2 separate regions of the Homo sapiens genome follow, and region 1 is linked to region 2. The links are contacts of gene promoters, found by promoter capture Hi-C in blood cells and fetal thymus (Javierre and others, 2016). All regions are on one chromosome and are shown on one strand. The core of a region is centred on a gene start or on the middle of the fragment in contact, and the rest is flanking DNA. Distances in the headings are between cores, read along the strand shown.

The links. The method cuts DNA at HindIII sites, captures the fragments that hold promoters and counts their contacts. A CHiCAGO score of 5 or more calls a contact.
Region 1: a contact is called between a fragment that was not itself captured here and the fragment with the promoter of ZSWIM7 in region 2, in 6 of 17 cell types (naive CD4 T cells, erythroblasts, total CD4 T cells and 3 more). The highest score is 6.4, in naive CD4 T cells.

The regions. Positions count from the first base shown.
Region 1 is chr17:15,820,032-15,826,127 of GRCh38, reverse strand. No RefSeq gene overlaps it. Among named protein-coding and RNA genes, the nearest start is that of LINC02087, 5.3 kb to the right of the region's middle. The HindIII fragment of the contact is 2,273 bases long and covers 881-3,153 here.
Region 2 is chr17:15,995,150-16,001,206 of GRCh38, reverse strand. ZSWIM7 (zinc finger SWIM-type containing 7) reads left to right here and starts at 1,503. Exons shown (of 5, transcript NM_001042697.2): 1 at 1,503-1,688. The coding sequence starts at 1,613. TTC19 (tetratricopeptide repeat domain 19) reads right to left here and starts at 1,383. Exons shown (of 10, transcript NM_017775.4): 1 at 1,175-1,383; 2 at 962-1,089. The coding sequence starts at 1,358. RefSeq lists silencers at 1,030-1,419, 1,770-1,929 and an enhancer at 1,540-1,629. The HindIII fragment of the contact is 18,071 bases long and covers 1-6,057 here.

The sequences.
Region 1 (6,096 bases), core at 768-3,267, 180 kb after region 2:
AACTTTGTCAAAAAAAAAAAAAAAAAAAAAAACAATGACAAGCACAAGACCAGATTGCTTTACTAGTGAACCCCACCAAAACATTTAAAGAATCAACTCTAATTCTTCTCAAACTCTTCCCAAAAATCAAAGAGGAGGGAACACTTCCTAACTCATTCTATAAAGTCAGCATTACACTGATACCAAAGCCCAATGAAGCCATCACAAAAAAGAAAATTACAGACCAATATGCCTTAAGTATTTAGATGCAAAAATTCTCAATAAAATATTAGCAAAGTGAACCCAACAGCATATCAAAGAAATTATTCACCATAACCAAGTGGAATTTATTCCTGGAGTGCAAAGATGGTTCAACATAAAAAAAACAATCAGTAAAATGCACCACATTAAAAAAATTAAAAGGCCAGGCATGGTGGCTCATGCCTGTAATCCCAGCACTTTGGGAGGCTGAGGCGGGTGGATCATGAGGTCAGGAGATCAAGACCATCCTGGCTAACATGGTGAAACCCCATCTCCACTAAAAATACAAAAAATTAGCCGGGTGTGGTGGCGGGTGCCTGTAGTCCCAGCTACCTGGGAGGCTGAGGCAGGAGAATCGCTCAAACCCAGGAGGCAGAGGTTGCAGTGAGCCGAGATTGCACCACTGCACTCCAGCCTGGGTGACAGAGTGAGACTCCATCTCAAAAAAAAAAGGAAAAAAATTACAGAAAAAACTATGTTCATCTCAGTTGATGCAGAAAAAACAATTTAAAAAATCCAATACTTTTTCATGATAAAAACACAAGAAACTAGGGTAGAAAGTAACTTCCCTATCATGATAAAGGCCATATTTGAGAATCCCACAGCTAACAACATTCTCAGTGGTGAAAGAGTGAAAGCTTTCCCCTAAGATCAGGAACAAGATCAGGATGCACACATGTCACTTCTCTTCAACATAGCCAGAGCACTTATGCAAGAAAAAGAAATAAAGATATAAACATTGGAAAGGAGAGCATAAGAATATCTCTGTTCACAGACAACATAATCTTCTATGTAAAAAACACTAACAATTCCACTCAATGGGGAAAAGGACAGTCTCTTCAACAAATTACGCTGGAAAAACTGGCTATCCATGTGCGTGAATGAAGCTGAATCCTTATCTGACACCATATACAAAAATTAACTCAAAATGGGCTACAGGCTAAAACTATAAATGTTTTAAAAGAAAACACAGGAGAAAAATCTCCATCAACTGAATTTGGAAATGATACTTTGGATATGGCAACAAAGGCACAGACAATGAAAGAAAAAAATTAGATAAATTGAACTTCATGAAAATTATAACTTGTTTTAATTTTAATAGGACCAAAGGATACTACTGAGAGAGTAAAAAGACAAGTCACAGAATAGAAGCAAATATTTGCAAATATTAAAACTCAACAGTAAGTAGTGTGCAAAATGAAATTAAGGGCTGTAAAAAACAATACTGAATAGGCAAAGTACTTGAGAGTTGTTAGTTGGCTCAAGAAATCTAGAGAGAAGTGGAAGTTCAAAGAACGTGGGTGGTGTTGTGTGTCTGGACTAGACCGTGGGCTTCCTGAGGCCAGGGACTCTGCCATATATACGCATGGTAGGCTCTCTGGCAGTATTTGTTGGGTGGATGCATAGGTGACTAGGACATTCCAACTGGAACGCAGGTTGGACCCATACCGCAAACAGTCTTCATTGCTAAGTAAGAGTATCCAGAATATATTAGTATCCAGAATATATTAATATAAAGAATGCTTATAACAGAATAACGAAAAGACAAATTTCAAGAGACATTTTACCATAAAAGACATATGACTGGACAACAAGCACATGAAAAGATGCTCAACATCATTTGTCACTAGGGAAATGCAAACCCAAACCACACTGAGATACCACCTCATACCCCCTGGGAAGGCTAGAGTGAGAAAGATGGTCAATAACAAGTGTCAGTGAAGATGTGGAGAAATCGGAACCCTCGTGCACGAAGTAAATTATAAAATAGTGCAGCTGCTCTGGAAAGCAGTTTGGCAGGTCCTTAAAATGCTAAATGTAGAATTATCATATGACCCAGTAATTCCACTTCTAGGTATCCATCTACTCAAGAGAAATGAAACATGTTCACCCAAAACTTGAACCCAAAAGTTCATGGAGGCATTATTAACAATCACAGTGACCAAAAAAGTAGAAACAACCCAAATGTCCATCCACCGATGACTGGAAAAGCCATATGACATATCCATAAAGTGGAATGTTACTTAGCCACAAAACTGAAGCAAGTACTGATACCTGCTACAACATGGACAGCCCTTGAAAACATTATGCCAAGTGGAAGAAGCTAGTCACAATACATCACATATTGTATGATTCCATTTATGGAAAATGTCCAAAACAGGCAAATCTATAGAGACAGATAATAAATTAGTGGTAGCCTAGGGTAGGGGAGGAATGAAGATTGACAAGGTTTCTTTTTGGGGTGATCAAAATTAGTTCTAAATTAGTTCTAAAAATATGTTCTAAAATTAGTTAGGGTGATTGTTGCATAACTGTGTAAATACACTAAAAAACAGACTTGTACACTTTACACAGGTGAACTTTATGGCATGGAAATTACATCTTAAGAAAACTGCTTACTCGAGGGGAGGCGAGAAGGGAGCAGTTGGTGGACAAAGAGGGAAAAAAGACTTTATTAATAATCTTTCAATACATTCTGAGTTTCAAATCATCTGACTATATTATCTATTCAAAAGCAAATCTAAAATCAAAGGATCAAACAAAATTAAAAACAGACTCCTAATTCTCCCCCAGTTTGGGCTGGGGAGTGGAGAAGGAGGGAGCTACCACCCACCCTGCCATAGTGTGAAGCAGTGGCTGAGTAAAGTCCGGCAGTGGATCCTATGTGACAAGGGCAGCCTTGGGGAGGCTCCAGGGCCCATTCATGGCCTGGAAGCCACCAAAGCCACCGGACCTGAGGGGGAGATAATGCCCGACTGACCTGATGGCAGATGCCCAACTGATCAGAGAAGCTGTCCATGCCCTTCCTCCTCTACTGCTATCTCAACCTACATAAAATCCCAGAACCCCCATCAAGCCCAAAGAGGAGCATGAAAACCCTAAGACTGACACCAGCCAGGTGGAGTAGAAGCTTGAGGGAGAAGCTCCATTAACAGAAAGGGAAGAAAGGGAATTCCTCTCTGACACTAGCTCTGTGGGCTGGGCTCACACCCTGGACTACCGCAGACTGGGATGTAGCACGGAGACTCTTTCCTGCACCCTGAGACCAGAGAGCAGCCAAGGAGGGTGATTCTCAGAGCTCTCTACTTGTGCCTCCTCACACACTTGGCCGGTTAACAGGTGTTGCACCAAGAAAGAGCTCTGTGGTCAATTAGCTTGAAAAATGCTGGGTTAAAGAAAGTCAAAAAATTTTTTTAACTGCAGGACTTCTCAGAGCCTTTTCTTGTGACTCTTCAAGAGGGAGTCTGGCAGGTTCAAAGCACTTTTGTGTTTTTGAGGGATATCTAATAGGAAAGACAGTCTTCTTCATTTTACAGCTGAGGGGAAGTGGCTCAGCCAAGGTCCCAGAGGGGGTCAATGAACAACTGGCCAGGGCTGATTTGGCAGCACCAGACAGCTTCTGCCACTGCCAGGTCACAGTTCTGGCTGGGTTCTGACTCGTGGTGCCAGAGCACTGGGCAATTTCATCCTGTGTCGAGGCAGCCTCTGGTCACTGCCTTATCCAGCTCGCTCAGAAACTGTATGTATTTGAGCCCCTGGTCGGGTACATGTCTGGGATATGGGTGGTGAGCACAAAAGATGATCAGAGAAAAGATTTGCTCCCCGCCTGGGGTGTGGGGACAGAGCAGCAGGGAAAGGCTGTGAATCTAGGCTGTCTCCGGGGTCCATCTGGCGGTGGGTTCCATCTGCACAGCGAGGCACCTGCAGTTTTCCCCTCAATCTGTTGAATGTAAATCAGCTGCAACCCCTCCCAGCCCCGTGCCTGCACCTCGGGTCTCAGGAGCCCAGGTGGGTGGCTGGGGTCTAGGCTCCTAGCATCCCATGAGGCACTGCCCACCAGTGCGCACAGAGCAGTGGAAGGCCTGCCTGGCCCTGGGATAAGGTATCAACTATGGGATGGCCCGAGTCTTCAAGATCTGGCCTTGGTCAAACCCTTGGTCCTGATCTCCTGCCCCCCCTCCGCCACACACCCAAGGCCAGCTCTCCAGCCTCCCAGCATCACTCAGGCCTTTCCTTTTTCCTGGACATACTTATTCATTGCCTGGTCAGCTCCTCCTGCTCCTCCTTCAAGGTTCCACTGAGGTGTCACCTCCTCCAGGAAGCCATCCCTGACTTCCCCAGCCCAAGTCAGGTGGTGTTCATTCTCTGTGTCTCGTTTGTCCTGTCCAACATCTAGCAGAGCACTTGAGAGGCTGAACCCCAGGGCCAGACAGCCTGGGTTTGACCCTGCTGCACACCAGCGGAAGGCCTTGGTAGCAATTTATGAAACTCCTCTGTGCCTCTGTGTTCTCTGTGTAAAAGTGGATGAGAACATTGCCCATCTCACAGGTGGTTATGAGCATGAAGTGAGGGAGCACAGTTACATTCTTAGAGCAGATTCTTGGCACACAGCAAGTCCTCAATACAGGCCGTGGAGGATGAACATTATGGCCCATATTGCACTGCATGGCAACTGCACTCCTCTGTCTTCCCCATCCTCTGAAACCTCCCAGGGGATGGGAAGCCCAGCAACTGTCAAAGGTGGAGTGAGAGGAACGTAAAAGCCAAAGAAAGCCCATGGGCCCTTAGGAAGAAACTGAAGGACAAGGAGGACGCGGGCAGGTGGAGAGGAAGGAGGGAGGCTCCGGGAAGCAGCTGGAGCAGGGTGATAGTGCACAGAGCAGGAGAGGAGATGCAAATGGTCAGGAAACACAGGAAAATGTCCAGTCTACCAAAAATCAGAAAAACAACTGAACAATGAAAAATTCCCAGCTCATAATTATAGAATAGTCCATACAAAGAAAAACACTAAAATGAAAATAAAGATAATATTTAAAAAATTTTTTGTGTAGCTGGCATTACATTGAGGACACAATTGGACCAGGACACATTATGGGACACAAATAAACAAAATTATGTCACCTCTTTCATAAACAGTATGTATCTCCTTTTTAATAAAGAGAGCTGGGGCCGGGCGTGGTGGCTCATGCCTGTAATTCCAGCACTTTGGGAGGCCGAGGTGGGCGGATCACGAGGTCAGGAGATCGAGACCATCCTGGTTAACACGTGAAAACCTGTCTCTACTAAAAATACAAAAAAAAAAACTTAGCCAGGCATGGTGGCGGGCGCCTGTAGTCCCAGCTACTTGGGAGGCTGAGGCAGGAGAATGGCGTGAACCCAGGAGGTGGAGCTTGCAGTGGGCCCAGATCGCACCACTGCACTCCAGCCTGGGCGACAGAGCGAGACTCTGTCTCAAAAATAAATAAATAAAACAGAGCTACAAATATTCTAAGCAAAATATTATATGAATGAAGTCACCTATGAAAATACAGTAGATCAATACTAAACGGAATATACACCAAAATGCAAGGTCCTTAACATTCAAAATGAATCGTGTAAGTCATCCCATTAGCAGAAAAATACAGGAGAAAATAGTAAGATCATTTAGCTGAAAAGTTTTTTAAAGCATTTAATAAACTTTAAAACTGAACCGCAAACACAAAAAAAACTTGAGTAAAATATAAAAAGAGGACTGGCCAGGCGCGATGGCTCACACCTGTAATCCCAGCACTTTGGGAGGCCGAGGAAGGCAGGTCACCTGAGGTCGGGAGTTCGAGACCAGCCTGACCAACATGGAGAAACCCCATCTCTACTAAAAATACAAAATTAGCCGAGCGTGGTGGCACATGCCTGTAATCCCAGCTACTCGGGGGGCTGAGGCAGGAGAATCGCTTGAACCCGGGAGGCGGAGGTTGCGGTGAGCCAAGGTCGTGCCATTGCACTCCAGCCTGGATAACAAGAGCGAAACTCTGTCTCAAAAAAATTAAAAATAATAAAAAAAAGAAGGCAACTTCCAGCCGGGCATGGTGGCTCACA
Region 2 (6,057 bases), core at 254-2,753:
TAGCCATTCAGAGCTTTCTGACAAGGAGATGACATAATCCAATTTACTCTTTTTTTTTTTGGTCGCTTTGGTTTCTGCATGGAGAATAGATTGCAAGAGGCCAGGAGGCCAGGAAAGACTACTGGAGCATAGTTGGTGGCAATGATGGTTTGCACTAGGGTGACAGCAAGGGAGATAGACAAAAGGGGAAAGATTTGAGAAATATTTTGCATTTGTTGGCAACAGGACTTGTTGCTGGACTGTAAGTGTATTGGAAGGCAATGGTAAGGTACCACAAGTTTTAAGAATGACTATGAGGTTTTTAGGCTGAAAAACTGATGGTAGTAAAGAGATGGCGAAAGCGTATGTTGAGGAGGCATTAAAGATCGTTTAGTTTTGGGCATGTTAAATCTGAGAGGTAGGTATGGTCCTAAAGTGCAAATGGCATGTCAGTAGCACACTACAGAATGGAAATACAAATTTGGACGTTGTTGGCATCGAGTAGGTATTTAGCTCAATGGAAGAGATGAGATAACTTGGGAAAAGAGGAGGAAAAAAAAATAGAAAAGGATGTGGAGAAAAGGAAGAATTCAGGAGGAGAACCGAACCGCATAACCAACACTAAGTTGCCATTTTCAGGCCGCTATATACGTGCGAAATTATGTCATTTCAGATAGGCTGGTTAATTGATAAAACCACTACAAAACGTTCCCGATATTTCGTTTGCATAAAGCGTGATGCCTAGGGCGCCATCTCCATTTGCACTTGACACTGCAGAGGTTTTACTGCAGGCCTTAGAGTCGGAAAAGCCTGGATGGATTCCAATCCCCTCTCGGATGACCCACCTCATTCTCGGCAATTTTACCCGCGGAGCCTCCATCCACTCTTCGGCGAGGCGGAGAGAGTAATGCGCAGCAACGCCAAGACCCCGCTCACAAAGGCTACCGCGCTCGGCCGGGCGCAGGGCCCGGAGCCGCCTCACCTTGGCTCGCTTCAGCAGCTGGATGATCTCTGCCTCGGCCTCGTCCGCCCCGTCCTCGGCAGCGGCCCCGTCGGCTCCCTGCTGCTCCTCCTCCTCTGCCGCAGCGGGCCTCGAGAACCAGGCGAGCGCTGCGGGAAGGGGCTCTGAGGTCATCGGGCCCGGCCCGCGCCCCTGTCCCCGCCCGGCCGGCCCCGCCCGGCCCGCGCCCCTCACCTGCCAGCAGCGGCAGCAGGCCTGGGCCCCGGCCGTGCGGCGCGACTCGGGATGGCGGCACCTGCACCTCGGGCCCCGGACCTCCTGCCAGCCCCGGGAGCAGGCGCGCGGAGCAGCCCCGGCACCGCCGCCCCGCGGCCCGCAGGAAGCCTCGGCCCAGGCTCCAGCTCAGGAGCCGGAACATGCTCCCGCCGCGTCCTCTGCGCACTGCAGGCCAGACGCGCTCCTGGCCCCCGACCACGCGCCGAGCGCCCTCCGGATTGGCCGGGCCCTGACGACTGAGCAGGACATCCCTGCGTCCGCACGCGCGATGACGCGCCCCGACGTCACTCCGTCTCGCCCTGCCCCGGCGGGGGGTCAGGATCCTCCACAGGTAGGCGCAGTCAGCTGGAGCGTCGCGGCGGTCCGCCGGTCGTGGAGGGCGTGTCCTGCGGCGCGATGGCCGTAGTGTTGCCGGCGGTTGTGGAGGAGCTCCTGAGCGAGATGGCGGCGGCGGTGCAGGAGAGCGCGCGAAGTACGGGACCGAGGTCGTGTGTGGCTGCGCCATGGGCGCGGGCGGGGCATCCGGGCACCGCCGGGCCGGGAGGCAGGAGGCGGGGTGTCCGGGCCTGGCCCTGCCTTTTTTCCATGTGGTTCTCTAAACCTCTTGTTCGTAAAAAGACAAAAAAACAAAACAACAAAAAAGCGAAATTGGAACAAGTAAAAGTCAAATCGATTCAGCAAATATTTACGGTACAGCGCAGTTGCAGGAGCCCCTCCGTCGGAGCGAGTAGGCCAGTGGGGACCGAAGTGCTGAGAGCTGGCCGGGTCGCTGGGAGGGGTCCCCGCCCGGGGGTGGAAGGGACGGGAGCCTACAGTGAGTGATAGAAACGTGGAGTTCTTGATTATTTTACACGAAATTTTGAATTATTAAACTTCTTTTTCTCAAATTCTGATGTTAACATTAAAGTTAATGCTTCCATACACTTTAAAAAGTAGGCCCAGCGCAGTGGCTCACTCCCGTAATCCCAGCACTTTGGGAGGCCGAGGCAGTTGGATTACCTAAGGTCAGGAGTTCGAGACCAGCCTGGCCAACATGGTGAAACTTCGTCTCTACTAAAAATACAAAAAATTAGCTGGGCGTGGTGGCGGGCGCCTGTAATTCCAGCTACTCAGGAGGCTGAGGCAGGAGAATCGCTTGAACCCGGGAGGCGGAGGTTGCCGTGAGCCGAGATCGCGCCATTGCACTCCAGCCTGGGCAACAAGAGCGAAATTCCATCTCAAAAAAAAAAAAAAAAGCATTTTAAGAGCCACAAAACCTAAATGCATATGCAATCGTTGGAGTAAATCTGGGTATTGTGAAAGCACCATTTTTTTTCTGACCAGCAGAGGGTACTCTTTGGCTATGCTCACCAAAATCACTTGAGAAGGGTTGATCTCAAGATGTGTTCAGAGTATGCTAGGATAAGATCAAATCAAATTTGATATACTCAAAATGCATTGACTAATGAACTACTCTTAGGATGTAAAAATGGCCACCTTATAAATAACAGCCATATCAGGCCCCCAAACTGCCATCGCTTATTCAACTTGGATGGCTTTTGTTTTAAAAGTACTGTACTGCATTTTGAAAGGGTTTATCTTGAGTTACTGTTTTTAAGGAACTGAGAAAAATAAGCCAACTTTGTTTCCTCATCTCAGTCAAAATTAAGGAGACTTAAGTATATGTGCTTGAAAGATTAGTGCAGCCAAGTATTCAAACATACTTGTTTCCAAAAAGGATGGGAAAAAAGCCAACTGATGTTAGCTTATACAATTGTTCTGGGCTCTCAGATTTGATGGCCTGAGGGTTTGGAATGCTGTCACTTTAAACAATAATCGCCAGAACTGTTCTGTGTCTGAATAGGTTAATCCATACACTGACAGTAGTTTGGGTTGGTTTGTTTTTTTTTTTTAGACAGAGTCTTGCTCTGTCTCCCAGGCTGGAGTGCAATGGGCGATCTCAGCTCAGTGCAACCTCCGCTTCCCAAGTTCAAGTGATTCTCCTGCCTCAGCCTCCCAAGTAGCTGTGACTACAGGCGCATGCCACCACACCCGGCTAATTTGTGTATTTTTAGAAGAGACGGGGTTTCACCATATTGGCCAGGCTGGTCTCAAACTCCTGACCTTGTGATACGGACACCTCAGCCTCCCAAAATGCTGGGATTACAGGCGTGAGCCACCGTGCCCAGCCAGTTTTGGGTTTTTTCCCTCCAACAAGAAGGTTCACAAGACACATTGACAGTCCTGAAGGGGGCATAATCATTGCCCCTGACACCCATGGTTCAGACACAGGAACCAATGCTGTTGATTCATGTTTATTTTCAGAAGCCCTGTTTTCTGTCTTTTTCAAAATCTTTTTTCTATTAATATATAGTTATGCACCCTTCCTAACCCCCATTCTTCAGTGGTAATTTTTTTAGATCAAGATTCCAAGTTTTATTTGTATGATGATATATAAACTAGTCACAGTGGAACCATGTAGGAAGCTATGATTACTTTTTGTTTTCTTTGTAACTTTTGGATTTCCCTGGAGTTACAACTATCTTGGTTTTGTTTATGTGCTTATTTAGTTTTTTACATATTTATTCCTACTTTAACCTCACATCCTTTACTAGTGTTCTCAATCTCCCCTCAAGATGTTCAGATGAACGAAGTATGTTATCAGTTTCACCTTCCTGAAGACATCTCTAGAGCCTTCGGACTTGCTTAATATGGACTGGCTGATCTCTCGGCTGTTTGCTGAGATCTCTCTTAACCATTATTATCTGGGAATTCTCTGTATCTTTGTTGGGTCCTATGTTTAGTATATCCTACAGTTTTCTTTTTCTCAGTTTACTACCTCTTTTTTTTTTTTTTGAGACAGTCTGTCACCCAGGCTGATGTGCAATAGCATGATCAAAGCTCACTGTAGCTTTGACCTCCTAGGCTCAGATGATCCTCCCACCTCAGCCTCCCAAGTGAGTATCTGGGACTGCAGGCACACAATACCACAGCTGGCTAGTTTTTTGTATTTTTTGTAGAGACAAGGTCTCACTATGTTGCCTAGGCTGGACTCGAAGTCTGGAGCTCAAGAGGTCCACCTGCCTTGGCTTCCCAAAGTGCCAGGATTACAGGCATGAGCCACCGCACCCGGCCCATGTAAAATTTTTTTTTTTTTTTTCGAGACAAGGTCTTGCTCTGTCACCCAGGCTGGAGTGCAGTGGCACAATCATAGGTCACTGCTCCCTCAACCTCCCAGGCTCAAGAGATCCTCTTGTCTCAGCCTCCTGAGTAACTGGTACCACAGGTGTGCACCACCATGCCCAGCTAGTTTTTGTATTGTTTGTAGAGACGGGGTTTCACTGTGTTGCCCAGGCTTACTACCTTATATTATGGCACACAGACTCTGCCAGCTTCCTGAAGAAGGGGGCATGAGATGTACCTTTTGAGGCTTTCTTTTCTATTTTTTGAGACCGGGTCTCACTCTGTTCCCCAGGCTAGAGTACAGTTGCGCAATCACACCTCATGCCCAGCTGATTATTTTATTTTCTGTAGAGACGGGTCTTCCTTTGTTGCCCAGGCTACTCTGGAACTCCTGGGCTCAGGCGATCCTTCTGCCTTGGCCTCCCAAAGTGCTGGGATTATAGTTGTGAGCCCCCACACCGGCCCCTGTTTGAGGCTTATGTCTGAAAAAGTTGTGGGGTTTTTTTGTTTTTTTGGGTTTTTTTTGAGACGGAGTTTCGCTCTTGTTGCCCAGGCTGGAGTGCAATGGTGCAATCTCTGCTCACCGCACCCTCTGCCTCCTGGGTTCAAGGGATTCTCCTGCCTCAGTCTCTCGAGTAGCTGGGATTACAGGCATGCGCCACCATGCCCGGCTAATAGTTTTTCTATTTTTAGTAGAGATACTAAATGTTAGTCAGGCTGACCATCGCGCCCGGCTGAAAAAGTTCTTTTTCTGCCCTTACACTTAAGTGATTGTTTGTCTAGGTATTGAATTATTTGTTGGAAATAATATTTCTTCAGACATCTGAAAACATTTTTCCACTACATCTTAGCTTCTAGTGTTACTCCTGATTTTTGTATGTGACCTTTTTTTTCTCTGGAAGTTTGAATTATGTTTTCTTCATAACCAGTGTTCTGAATCTTCTGATAAAGTTTTTTTTTTTTCACTTCACAGTGTGGGCACACAGTGGGCCCTTTCAAGCTAGAAATTCATGTCCTTCAGCTGTGGGGAATTTTGAATTATTTGATTGATGAATTCCCTCCATCTGTTTTCTCTGTTCTTTCCGGTATTTCTGTAATTAAGTTACTGGATGTCCTCTGTTGTCCTTCTGGTTGACTTACTGTGGCTTCTGTGTTGCTTTTATATTTTCTCTACTTCCTGGGAACTTTCTTGAACTTTATCTTCCAGATTTTCTGTTGAATTTCTGCTGTCTTTTTTTTTTTTTTTTTTTTTTAAGAGACAGGGTCTTGCCGGCCACAGTGGCTCATGCCTGTAATCCCAGCACTTTGGGAGGCCAAGGTGGGCAGATCATCTGAAGTCGGGAGTTCGAGACCAGCCTGATCAACATGGAGAAACCCCGTCTCTACTAAAAAAATTAGCTGGGCGTGGTGGTGCATGCCTGTAATCCCAGCTACTCTGTAGGCTGAGGCAGGAGAATTGCTTGAACCCGGGAAGTGGAGGTTGCGGTAAGCCGAGATTGCGTCATTGTACTCCAGCCTGGGCAACAAGAGCGAAACTCCGTCTCAAAAAAAAAAAAAAGAGAGACGGGGTCTTACTGTGTTGCCCAGGCTGGCCTCAGACTCCTGGTTTCAAGCAATCTTCCTGCCTCAGCTTCCCAAGTAACTGAAACTACAGAGACATACCATGTATTTTTAATTTA